Regions from separate parts of the Homo sapiens genome. Here region 2 is linked to region 1. Evidence: promoter capture Hi-C in 16 types of primary human blood cells and fetal thymus (Javierre and others, 2016). All regions are on one chromosome and are shown on one strand. Each heading gives the region's core, a stretch centred on a gene start or on the middle of the fragment in contact. The rest is flanking DNA. Distances are from core to core; before and after follow the strand shown.

Region 1 (6,626 bases), core at 1,582-4,081:
GTCTATATTTTCTACAGTGAAGCTGGGATACTTTGGTGAGCAGAGGCATTGTTTTCAAAGTTCCCATTGGTACTTCCATCACATCCCCGTGTGGTTCTGTCCTGGACCGGCTGCCCACTGAGGTCCCACTCGCCCCTACCCTGCCCTGTCTGGCCAGCTGGGTACCTGCCCAGGAGGAAGAGGCTCAGTGTTTGGGGCCTGTGTTATGCCCTGAAAAGCCACTGCTGTTGGGTGAGGGCCCATGAGGCCTTCAGTTTGCCATCGTCATGTGCTTCTGAAGAGCCAGGATGCTGTCCACTGTTTGTCTCCTGGCGGGACAGAATTCCACTCAGTGCATATCAGGGGCAGTGATGGGGCTGGGGGTGTGAGGGCTCAGCTGTGCCCTGAACTCCTTCACAGTCTTGCAGGAGGGGTCATGGAGCCATATCTGGGTTTGCAATTTTTGGAAAGTTACGTGACGATCTGCACTCAGGAATGCTGAGTGTTCGGCAGGCCCCATGAACAGTGATCAAATGTGACGCTGTGTGTCCCACAGCCTAAGGGCTGTGGCAGAGACCAGGAGGGCCATCAGCTCCCACAGCTTTCGAGTCCACCTCAGGGCTCCTCCTTGCTGACCTCCCTGGGTTGTCAGTGGAGACAGCCACCCTCCCACAGAGCACCTGCCTGAAATGGGCCAGGCCGCCCCTGTGCCCTGGCTCTTGCTGCACATGCTGAGGTCAGCACGGAGGCGCCCTCGGGCACCAGCATGCCCTCGGGTTTGCAGCTTGTCAAATATCCCATGAAGGCAACCTGACCAAATGTGCTCTAACACCACTGGACCAATGGAACGTCTTGGGCTGAACAGATGCAGCCTTGCATCCACCGCCTGCCACCACCCTCTGTGTACACCCCCTGCACACACCTCTGCACACACCCCCCCTGCACACTGTTGCACATACCCCCTGCACACAGCCTGTGTACACTCCCTGCACAGATCCCCTGCACACAACTCCCTCACACATCCTCTGCACAAACCCTGTGTATACCCCCTGCACACACCTCTACACATACCTTCACACACCATGTATACCTCCTGCACACACCTCTGCACACACCTCCTGCACACACCTTGTGTACACTCCCTGCACACTGTTGCACACACCCCCTGCACATAGCCTCTGCACACAGCCTGTGTACACTCCCTGCACAGATCCCCTGCACACACCTCCCACACACATCCTCTGCACAAACCCTGTGTATACCTCCTGCACACACATCTACACACACCTCCTGCACACACCTTGTGTACACCCCCTGCACACTGTTGCACACACCTCCTGCACACACCTCCTGCACACACTGTTGCACACACCCCCACACATAGCCCCTACACACACCTCTGCACATACTGTTGCACACACCCCCACACATAGCTCCTGCACACACCTCCTGCACACACCTCCTGCACACACTGTTGCACACACCCCCACACATAGACCCTGCACACACCTCCTGCACACACTGTTGCACACACCCCTTGCACATACACCCTGTATATACCCCCTGCATACTCCTTATGTACAGCACTGCACATACTCCCTGCAGAGACCCTGTGTGCATCCTCTGCACACACCCCTTCTGTATACTGTCTGCACACACCCCCTACATGTACACCCTCTGCACACTCCTCCTGCATACACCCCATGTACACCTTCTGCACACACTCCCTGAACACATTCTGAGTACACCTCCTGCACACCCCGTGTACAACCTCTGCACACACCCCCTACACACTCCCCTACACACTCCCCTACACCATCCACACACACTCCCTGCACACAGCCCCTGCACACATTCCCCATGTACACCCTCTGTCTGTGTATACCCTCGTCTACTACCACCATACGTACCCCCCACCACTACCCTGCCTTGTCTATCACCCCCCAGGCTGTGACATACCAGGGATGTTGCCAACGAGCTGGTCTAATCTGGGGTGAGGGTTTCTGGGTGCCCCTAGACACCAGGAGAAAGGCGGGGAGGGGACACCCCTGGGGGTCTGGATTCACTCCACCAGGCGCTGGGCCACAGTGGTACGGTGACACAGTAGATGTCTTGAGCAGGATTAAAGTCTTCCCAATAAACAGGCTGAACTCTGTCTTCCTTGAAAGCTCTGTAGAAGGACCTCACAAGGATAAACACAGCGAGACCCTCCAGGGCGCGGTCAGCCACGAGCCACAGTGCTGGGCCTGTGACATCTCTGGAGGTTCTGGGGTGGAGAAGGACCGGCCGTGGGGAGTGACTGGCTGGGGAGAAGCTCAGCTCCCGCCCACCTCTGGGAGGCCCGGGGCTGGACGGGAGGTGCAGCAGACAAGGCTCCGGGCGGGTGCTGGGGTGTCTGGAGGGGTCCCCGCGGGGGGGTCGGGTTGGGTGGGGAGTCTAGGTGAGTCGGGGGTCCCCGGGGGCGCTGGGTTCAGGGTGGGAGCGGAGTGTGGATGGGGCAGGGTCCCCATGCCCACCACCAGCCGCGATTCCACCGCGCCTACTCGGGGTTTCCCCGGGAGGACACCGCGTGTGTCAAGGGCCGGGGCCTAGAAGGCGGCCGCGCCCAGGGAAGCCTTGACAGGGAGCTATCTGGGGCGGGGGCTGGGGTCGCGTGGCCAGTACCTGGGAGAACCGCCATTCAGGAGAACCCCCCGCCAGGCTCTTGGTTCCGCCCACGCAGTCCCGCCCCCTCCCCCAGCCACGCCCCTCGCCCCGCCGCGCAGGCCCCGCCCCGTCCCGCCAGGCTCTCGGTTCTGCCGACGCAGGTCCCGCCCCTCTCGTAGCCTCGCCCCGCCCGCCGCGCAGGCGCCGTCCGAGGGCTCCGTTTGAAACATGGCGCGGGCTGGCCCTCGGCTGGTGCTGAGCGAGGAGGCGGTTCGGGCGAAGAGCGGCTTAGGGCCTCACCGCGACCTGGGTGCGCCGGAGGGCGGGCGGGGGTGCAAGCGTGAGGTGGCGGGGGGGTGGGTGCCGAGCTTCCCGGGGCGGCGGCGGACCGTGGGCAGGCGGGACCCGTCTACGCAGGCGCCGCGGGCGTCCGGAACGGTCGCGGGCGAGCGGGGCGCGCGTGTCCAGGTGAGCGACCCACCCCCCGTGCCCAGGTGCGGCCCCTGCCCGCGTTCGGGTCCCGGCGTCCCGGCCCCTGCCTGTCTATCGGGTCACTGGTTCCGTGACTGGGGGTTACATCCGCTGAGAAGAGGGAGCCGGCCTTGCTGTCCAGGAGCGCAGCCCGCCCTCCCGCTGGGGATCACCTCCCTGGTTCTCCTGGGCCCACTCTGTGGTGATTGTTGCGCTCGGCCTTCTTGAGGATGTTGGTGGCCGGTTTCCTTCTTTTTGGCTTATTTTTGTCTGGTTTTGGCGTCAAGGTGAAGCCGAGCTCATAAACTGCTGAGAAGTGTTGCCTTCTCTTATATTTAGAAGAGGTTCTGTAGAGTGTGTGCTCATTGTTTGAATGTTTCCTGGAATTTTCCAGTGAAACCATATGGACATGTCAATTTCTGTTTTTGAAGCTTTTAAATGACAAATTCTGTATCTCTGGTTGTTAGAGAACCGTTCATATTAGTTCACCGCGAGTCTTGGCTGTGTGGGGTTTTGTGGCATTGGCTTATTTGAGCTAACTTGTGGAGTGTGTGTGTTGAGTTGTTTCTGGTGTTCTGTTGTTAGCCTGTTAATGTCTGTGTGTGGTCTGCAGGTGTTACTGGACCAACAGGTTCAGTCAGGTGCTGTGGGGGCCACAGGCCAATACACTGAGACAGTGGGGTTTGCAGCAGAGAAAGAGTTTAAGGCTGGCAGGGGCCCAGCAGGGAGGTGGAAGGAGGCCTCAATCCATCTCCCCAAGGAGATCTGAGCGGTTTTTTTTTTTTAGACGGAGTCTCACTCTGTCGTCCAGGTTGGAGTGCAGTGGCACAATCTCAGCTCACTGCAACCTCCACCTCCCAGGTTCAAGTGATTCACTCAGCCTCCTGAGTAGCTGGGATTACAAGCACGCGCCACCATGCCCGGCTAATTTTTTATATTTTTAGTAGAGACGGGGTTTCACCATGTTGGCCAGGCTGGTCTTGAACTCCTGATCTCAGGTGATCCACCTGCCTTGGCCTCCCAAAGTGCTGGGATTACAGGCATGAGCCACCTACACCCAGCCTGAGCTGGGGGTTTTAGAGGAACAGGACTGTGAGGAGCTGGAAGATTGGTGTTGTCAGTTGGTGGAGGTAAGGGCCATGGAATTATCAGGGTGTGGAAACTGCATTCTTTGGTGAATCCGCTTGCGGGGCCCTTTAGACCAGCTGGCATCAGTCCCCAGGTCCTGAAAGAATATCTCAAATGGAAAACTTAACGGTTTATAATGTCCAGGTTATTATCTGTAGAGTGGTTAAGGGGAACTGTAACCTCGTGACAAAATCCAAGTGATCCTGAGGCAGTAGGCACCACAGGGCTCTGAGGAAGCAGGTGAGAGGGCAGCTGACCTCGGGACATGCCGAGTCCTCCCTTCTTCCCTGATTAGTGCTACAAGGTTTACAGGGATATCCCTTTTCTGTTCCTGATGTTGATAATCTGTGTATTCTTTCTTTTTTAGTCTTGCTAGAGGCTTGTGAATGTTATTGATAGTTTCAAAGAACCGACTTTGGGTTTGATTTTTCTCCAGTGTTTTTCTAGTTTCAAATTTCATTGATTTCTGCTTTTTTTTATTTCCTTCTTTCTGCTTGCTTTGCATTTATTTTATACTTTTCTAAATCCTTGAGGCAAAACTGTAGATTATTGATTTGAGACTTTCCTATTTTCTATTATAAACAGTGCCACAAGTTTCCCTGTAAGCACTGCTTTAGCTGTATCCACAAATTTTGTTATGTTGTATTTTAATTTTCATCCAGTTCAGCGTATTTTAAGAATTTCCCTCGATACTTCCTGTTTGACCTGTGAATTTTTTTTTTTTTTTTTTTTTTGAGGTGGAGTCTCGCTCTGTCACCCAGGCTGGAGTGCAGTGACGCAATCTTGGCTCATTGAAAGCTCTGCCTCCTGGGTTCATGCCATTCTCCTGCCTCAGCCTCCCGAGTAGCTGGAACTCCTGACCTCATGATCCGCCCACCTCGGCCTCCCAAAGTGCTGGGATTACAGGCATGATCCACCGCGCCCGGCCTGACCTGTGGATTTTTAAGGAGTATGTTTTTAACGTTCCATGTGTGGATATTTTCCTGTTATTTTTCTGTGTGATTCCATTATGGCCAGAACATAATCTGTATGATTTTAATTCTTTTAAATTTGTCAGGGTTTGTTTTATGATCCAGCATCTGGTCTATGTTGTTGAATGTTCCAGGTGCACTTGAGTGTGTGTGTATTCTGTTGTTGAGTGGAGTGTTATGTAAATACATAAATATCAATTAGATCCTGTTGGTTGGTGATATTGTTCAGTTCTTCTGTATCCTTGCTGATTTTCTGTCTAGTGACTCTATTAATGACTGAGAGAGGGGTCTGGAACCCTTAACTGTAATTGTGGATTTGTCTGTTTTTTTTTTCACTTTGTATGTTTTGAAGCTCTGTTTGTTGAATTACATAGCTAGGATTTTTATACCTTCTTAGTGGACTGACCCTTTTAGTATATGTAGTCTTCCTCTTTTTTTTTTTTTTTTTTGAGACAGAGTTTCCTTCTTGTCCCCCAGGCTGGAGTGCAGTGGCACGATCTTGGGTCACTGCAACCTCTGCCTCCCGGGTTCACATGATTCCTCTGCTTCAGCTTCCCGAGTAGCTGGGATTACAGGCGCCTGCCATCACGCCTGCCTAATTTTTGTATTTTTAGTAGAGACGGGGTTTCACCATGTTGGCCAGGCTAGTCTCGAACTCCTGACCTCAGGTGATCTCTGCTGGGCTCCCAAAGTGCTGGGATTACAAGTGTGAGCCACGGTGCCTGGGCCTTGTTCCTCTTTTTTCCTGGTAATTTTCTTTGTTGAGACATCTGTCTTATTTGATATTACTGTTGTTACGGTAGCTTCTTTTGATTGGTTTTTGCATGGCGTATCTTTTCCTATCCATTGCTTTGAACTTTTAACCTACCTGTATCTTTATATTTGAAATTAGTTTCCTGGTTCATTATTTTTATTCACTCTGCTAATCTCTGTCTTGTAGTAGTGTTTTAGGCCATTTACATTTAATCTAATTGTTAAATATTAGAACTTAAGTGTGCCATTTTATTGTTTTTTGATTGTTTCCTGTGTTTTTTCTTCTGTTTCCCTTTTCCTGCCTGCTGTGACTTACTCGAATATTTTTAGTATCTCATTTTGATTTATCTGTTATGTTTTGGTGTATATCTCCTTGTATGGTTTTCATAGTGGTGGCTATACAAATTACAATGTATTTATGTAATTCAACACAGTTTACTTGTACAGGTATTTTACTACTTCTAAGTGAAATATAGAAACTTTATCACCATTTAGGTCTCTATCCTCTCCCCTTTACAATTTAGTTGTCTTAAGTATTTCCTCTGCATACCTTGAGAACCGTATTAATATTATGATTTTTTTTAAATACCTAGCCTTTTCAGTAACTCAGGAGGAAACATATTTATCTGCATGTTTATCTGTTCTGTTATTTTTTCTTCATTCCACGATGCTCTAGGT
Region 2 (6,626 bases), core at 2,671-5,170, 260 kb after region 1:
CAGCTCGGGGGCGCTGCACCGGCAGCCTCCCAGGTGAGGGCACAGTCTCCAGGATGGCCCCACCGGCTGATGCCAACTGAAAGCCCCAGGCTGTGGTCTGTGCTTCCGACTAACCAGCTATCAAATGGGGTTCCCAGAAGACCAGACTTGAGCTCTATGAATTTCCTAGAGTGACTCACAGAAGTCAGGGAAACATCTGTAAATGAAAAATAAAATTCTAAGCCCCATGGACTGAACGGATTCCCACTCTTGGCCAAGGGCACTCCAAAGTCAACCTGGAAAATGAGGTCAGGCCATGATGTGAAGCGGGACTGGACTTGCCTCATTATCCCCTCTTTTGGAATTCAGGCACAGCTGACCAGCATTAACTTTAAAACAGAAATCTGAAGGTTGACAAAGCAGACTCCGTGGTAATAAGACACCAAATTCCGATCCGACTTTAGTACAGCATCACGTGATAGATGGCAGGCCCTGAAAGAAACTGAGTATTTTATCTCAAAATATATCCCTTTGACATATTTTGAAATAGCCCTGCAAAGCTGTATCTTGTGGGAAAAATCTACATTCTGTAGAGAATCTCCTGCCCCTTCCAAGTCTCTTCCTGACCCAACAGAGATTTAACTAACAATCTGGTACCTTTGAGGGCCTCATGAGTGATGTTTGCCATCTACTCTACTCTTTTTGAAGCCTGCTACCTGAAGGCTGAATTCATCTATGTGACAAGAACCTTGGCTTCTACAACTGCTTATGTTAACCATGCACATTTCTTTCTGACTTCAGCTCTTCAGAGCTTAACCCTTTCAACCAAATGCCAATCAGGAAATCTCTGAATCCACCAACGACCCGACATTCCTCGCTTCAAGTTGTCCCGCCTTTCCAACACGAACCACTGTTACAACTGACATGTACTGACTGATGTCCTCTGTCTCCCTAAAACATATCAAAACAAGCTGCAGACCAGTCCTCCTCGGCAAATGTTCTTGGGACCTCCTGGGACTGTGTCACAGCCACGGTCTTCGTATTTCACTCAGAAGAAACCTCTCTAAATACCCTGCAGAGTTTGACTCTTCTGTCCACACACTAGGCTGACATTTACCCATTTATTCTGCGGGGTGTCACCCAGGGTACGGATGGGCCCCAGGTGGGAGCGATGCAGAGGGGACCCGTGGGAAGGGGCTGCCTTCTTCCCAGAGCCTCCAGGCGTCCAGCAATGAGGCTCCCTAGGGAACCCCACCTTTTGGGATTTCATGGAGGCGGTAGGCAACACTGATGAAATCCACAGCCACTGGGGATCGGCCAGACCCCATCCTGAGGTTACCCAGGGGCTGCAACCACTTCTCATTAGCTTAAAAAAGACACAACACTCAGGAGATTCCAAGGATTTTAGGAGCTATGGTCCAAAAACCTGGGACAAAGACCAAATACCGTAACAAAAGATTTTCCTGGCATCCCTGTCTAGTCAGGAAGGGAGAGGAGGTGGAGGCCGTGTGTTTTCTTCCTCTATCACACCTTCACCAGGTGCTGTGGGAAAGTGCCTGTTACAACTCACCCAGAGAGCTGAGCATGGAGATATCCACAGAAACGTCGGGATAGGACTTCATCGACATGAACTCCAGAACAGAGCTGCTGCTGTCTCCTAGGGTGTCCCCAACCTGTGGAGACAGACACACATCAAGAGCAATTCAAACATCAAACGAAAAACGAAATGTTACTTCACACTCGCTATTGAAATCACTCTAATTATTTGCTAAACGTGAACCCACCCCTCAGTAAGTGACAAGACCAAGCCCTGTTCACTGAGGCTGCTGTTCAAGGGACTGTCAGGTTGGAGCTCATGAATGGATATGCAAATCCATGTCAAAGAAAAACCTACTGAGACCAACAACGCAAACTAACAATCCTTTGTTAACTTTTTGGGGCTAAAGAAATTGGGGAGGGACATTATGCAACAGGAAGACACACAGAATTTTAGGGTCCAGGACTATTTCTCAGGCACTTCACAGAGCACACAACGTTCCCTTTCCTTTCCCAGCAAGGCGTGTCCTCAGGGCTAGACTACAGCCACCCTAACACATACTCTCTCATCAGCTCCCTGCAGCTCGGCCTCTGCCCTCAAACAGATGTTAAGGGGTCTCTCCAGGTTCCCAGGGACCCTGGACCAAAGCCCAAGCCCATGCCTGCTGACTGTCAGAGACACACACCTGCCAATCGGCAGGTGCAGCAGTCTGGGCTCACAGCACTGCCCTGCCAGCACTGGCCCCAGAGCCCACTGTGCTTGGGACAACACCTGCTACTCACCAAGCAGGTCCTGAGAAGGCCCATCCTGCCCAACCCTTGCAAGGGTGTCCCACAAGGACAGCACCCAGCGGGGCCAACTGCTCTGAAACTACCCATTTCTGGATTTGGAAGAATGTACTGCGGCTTCACACCACTCACCTCAAGTCATGAAAAGAGGAGGAGAAACACTATTGATCTTACTGATCAGAAACGGACTCCATTTCTAAACGCCGTCATACACACAGACCTCCCCACCTCAAAGGCTGGATACAACTTTCCCTGTGAGAATAATATTTGGCTTGCCCTTCCATGTTCAAAAACTTACCTTGGCTTCATCTGGAGGCTTCATGGGAACATTTCTTCTCTGAAAAGTAAATGAGGACAGAAACTAGTTTTTCCAGAGTGATTTCATAGAAACGGACAATTCGCTGACATTACACACACGTAAAAATGGCTTGTGCGCTTCTGCGAATTCTGCTCCCCAGTCACACCATCTTAATGGATTAAGGCTGGGGGTCCTCCAAACCTTCTTCATCACCAGTCACTGACCCAACCACGCCCAGCCCCCTCCTCAGCGCCAGGATTGTGTGCCGGGGACAGCGCTCCACAGGGCGAGATGGAGCGGACAGAGAGAGGACGCCGATGCTGTTTCGGCAGCCTTGGGTGGCTTAAAACAAAAGAAAAAAGATGTGCCTAGATCCTATGGGAAGCTTAGGATAAGAAGGGTCTCGTGGGTTCCACCTGGAATATGACCAGTTGCCTGAGACCAGCTCGAGTCCTGCAGGGGCAGGTGTGTGCAGGAGCAAAGGAGGCAGACACCTCCTGGCAGTGCCTGTGGCAGGTGGGCCTGCCGTGGGCGCAGGAGCGAAGGAGGCAGACACCTCCTGGCGGTGCCTGCAGCAGGTGGGCCGGGCCGTGCATTGTCTCCTTCCACAACTGTCGGCCTCCGTGGCACACCCGTCCTGTGCTCCGGTGGAGCGATGCTGTAGTATATGCACTCTATCATGTGTGATCTTTGTTCGAAATAATGTTTCTCAGATTCAATGACATCGATTTTCACAAGCTTTTAATTAGAAAATGAATACTGCTGTTTTGTTCGCATCTGTTTCCCCAAAAGCCTTCAGTCACTTTAGTCCTGAGCATCATTTACTGCGGGGGTGCACTCGGGGTCACTCAACTCCATATCCAAGTTCACTTTCCCGAAAGGAATCTAACTGGAACCCAGAGAGGAAACCACAGAGCCTTCCCATTTCCGGGCTGTGAGGGGGTCACTTTCCCTACCCCACAGCAATGCCTGATTCTAACGCTGTGTTGGGGGGGCCAGCTTCCTGCCTGGAAGGAGCCTGCAGGCCACGACACGGGAGGGTGACCAGAGCTCAGAGTCAGAACCACGAGCTGGTGGGGCAGGCTCTGCAGAGGGGGCTGCTCCTCAGAGCTGCAGAAATCTGCTTGGGGACTCCCGCCTGGCTGCAACCCTCTCTTCAGGGGCCTGCGAGCCCTCCAAGCATGGAAATCAAGGAAAATCTTGAGTTCCTTCAAGGGAAATTCCAGTTACTTAGATAACTCTGAGAAGTAAATCAGCGACTTGATAAGCAAGAAGGTAACAGTATCCTAAAACAACAGTCAAGGAAGGTGGAGACAGATGTTTGTTCCCTGTAGAAAGTAAAGACAACCTCCCAGCACTGTTCCCTGTAGAAAGAAAAGACAACATCCTACCACTCTGGGAGGCTGAGATGGATGCATCATTTGAGGTCAGGAGTTAAAGACCAGCCTGGCCAACATGGCGAAACTCCGCCTCTACTAAAAATACAAAAATTAGCCAGGTGTGGTGGCGCATGCCTGTAATCCCAGCTACTCGGGAGGCTGAGGCAGGAGAATCGCTAGAATCAGGGAGGCAGAGGTTGCAGTGAGCCACAATCACGCCACTGCACTCCAGCCTGGGTGACAGAGTGAGACTCTATGTCTCAAAAAGAAAAAAAAAGAAAGAAAGTAAAGATAACATCTTAATGTATATCCCTGAGTTGTCTTTCAGAAACCTGGACCCTCCACCTAGGACCTCCCCAACAAACTAATCTACTGGCATGAAGGGCTCAGATAAGGAGAAACTGAAGACTGAGCTCTGACCCCGTTCTTTGTTCTGAATTTCTTCCTGACGGGCCTGGAGGAAGCCACACCCACAAGCCTAAGCTAACATTCTTTTCTCTTCACCCCAAATTTTTAAACAAAGCTTCTCCTCCTTAACCAGCTGCAAATCAGAAAACCTTTGAATCCACCTATAACCTATAAGGCCCTGCTTGCAGATACCGCCCTTCTAGGCCAAGCCGACATGTAACCTCTGTGTCCTTATGCACGACTCTGCCTTTCAGTTCTGCTTTCCTGAGATCTACCCCCGCTTTACAAGCCTTGCCTGTAGCCAGTGGGGGAGGCCAGGATTTATACATGAGCCTCCTGGCCCACCTTGCTTGGCGCCCTGCAAATACACACGTCCTTTCTATGACAAAACCTCGGCATGGGTGTCTGGGTTTACTGCACCAGGCATGTGGACCCCAGTTCATCTGTAACAAGCACAGATGAAACCGTCAGGTCAAGGGACTGACCCCTCCTTGGGAGCCATGAGCCAAACGTTCTCAGAGCCTGGGAAGGACAGAGACTCATCCGAACTCCACCCACAGCAGAGACCACGCTGAAAAGACAGGGCTCCCCGAAGGGCCACTCCTTAGCATTAAGGCTACACGAACCCTAGAATAAGGCTGCCCTGGACCCACCCCAGACAAGCCTGGTAGGATCCGGCCATTATCCACAAGTAACAACTGCCAAAATGATCATCAGTATTCTCTGAAAGAGAGAAAGAACCCAGATCAGCCTTGCCCAGCAGACATAACGCGAGCACACGCCTCGTTCTAAATGTTTTTTTATCTTTTTTTTGAGACAGGGTCTTGCTCTATTGCCTAGAGTGCGGTGGTGCAATCGCACTGCAGCCTCGACCTCCCGGCCTCAAGTGATCCTCCCACCTTAGCCTCCTGTGGAGCTGATGACAGGTGCATGCCACCATACCCAGCTCTTAAAATTCTAGCTGCCACATTAAAATTACTCTTAACATTCAATTAACTAATGCATTTTACTTAGACAAATTTATTGAAGATGTTTTTATTCCAACATGTGGGCCATAAGAAATCGTTACTCATATTTTTACGTTTTTTGCATTAGTTTTTTAAGATCTAGTTTGTAGCTCACACATCACATCTAAATTCAGACTGGCCACATTCAAATTTCCCAGCGGCCATGTGGCCAGTGCTTTTTTATCAGACAGCGAGGGTCAGGACTGTCCACCAGGCACGTGCACAATGGCCCACAGCTCCAAGTGCAGCAAAGTGTCAAACAGAAACAGAACCGGAAACGGCAGAGGCGACAGACTCAGTGACTGAGGACTTCAAAAGCAGCAGCAATAAATACGAACGTGGCTCAAGGATGTAAGGAAAAACATACACACAACATGAGAGAAGATACACAAAAGCAGCAAATGGAGCCCAAGTGATGAGCAGCGCGGGACGACATCATCAGTGAAAACTGATCTGGGATAACAGGTTCAGGTGTGGCCAGAGAACAGGTGAGTGAACTTAGCCAACAGCATCAGAAACTAATCTGCAGCAGCCTGGTGCGGCAGCACAGTGTCGGTGCCATGTGAGATAACACGAGCTGTCCTCAGAGTGCCACAGTCCAGCAGGAGGAGGAAGAGGCAGTGGTGGAAAATGACATTTGAGTAATGGCTAAAAATCTTCCAAATATGATGAAAACTACAGACAGATCCAAGAAACAACAAATGCTAAGTAGAACACAAAGAAAAGCCCACCAAGGCACCTGGAAAATACAATGCTGAAAATCACTGATAAAGAAAGATAAAAGTTCAAAAGCTCCTAGAGCACCGGCCAGATCCCGTCCTGCCGAGGGCCCGGGAGTGAGCAGCCGAGGCTCTGTGAGCCACACGCTGCCCGAAGCATCTTCTTCTTCCTTTTCTTTTCTGTAAACACCCTTTTAAAGATGTAAAAGACATTCCTGGCTTGTGGTCTGTACAAAAGCAGACTTCAGGTCAGATCTGGCCGAAAAGACACGTCACATGTGGGAAACAAAGATGACAATGACTTCAGACGCTTTTTTTTTTTTTTTGGAGATGGGGTCTGGCTCTGTGGCCCAAGCTGGAGTGCAGTGGCATGATCTCGGCTCACTGCAAGCTCTGCCTCCCGGGTTCATGCCATTCTCCTGCCTCAGCCTCCCGAGTAGCTGGGACTACAAGCACCTGCCACCACGCCCAGCTAATTTTTTCTATTTTTTAGTAGAGACGGGGTTTCACC

What was found. Contacts are between HindIII fragments. The CHiCAGO score rates a contact against its expected background, and 5 or more counts as called.
Region 2: a contact is called between a fragment that was not itself captured here and the fragment with the promoter of CEP72 in region 1, in 1 of 17 cell types (endothelial precursors). The highest score is 5.4, in endothelial precursors.

The regions. Positions count from the first base shown.
Region 1 is chr5:609,509-616,134 of GRCh38, forward strand. CEP72 (centrosomal protein 72) reads left to right here and starts at 2,832. Exons shown (of 12, transcript NM_018140.4): 1 at 2,832-2,935. The coding sequence starts at 2,854. CEP72-DT (CEP72 divergent transcript) reads right to left here and starts at 2,702. Exons shown (of 3, transcript NR_103444.1): 1 at 2,644-2,702; 2 at 1,939-2,245. RefSeq lists enhancers at 1,755-2,685, 2,686-3,615. The HindIII fragment of the contact is 7,839 bases long and covers 1-3,525 here.
Region 2 is chr5:868,924-875,549 of GRCh38, forward strand. BRD9 (bromodomain containing 9) reads right to left here. Exons shown (of 16, transcript NM_023924.5): 13 at 2,603-2,641; 14 at 1,550-1,652. Among named protein-coding and RNA genes, the nearest start is that of BRD9, 21 kb to the right of the region's middle. The HindIII fragment of the contact is 1,164 bases long and covers 3,339-4,502 here.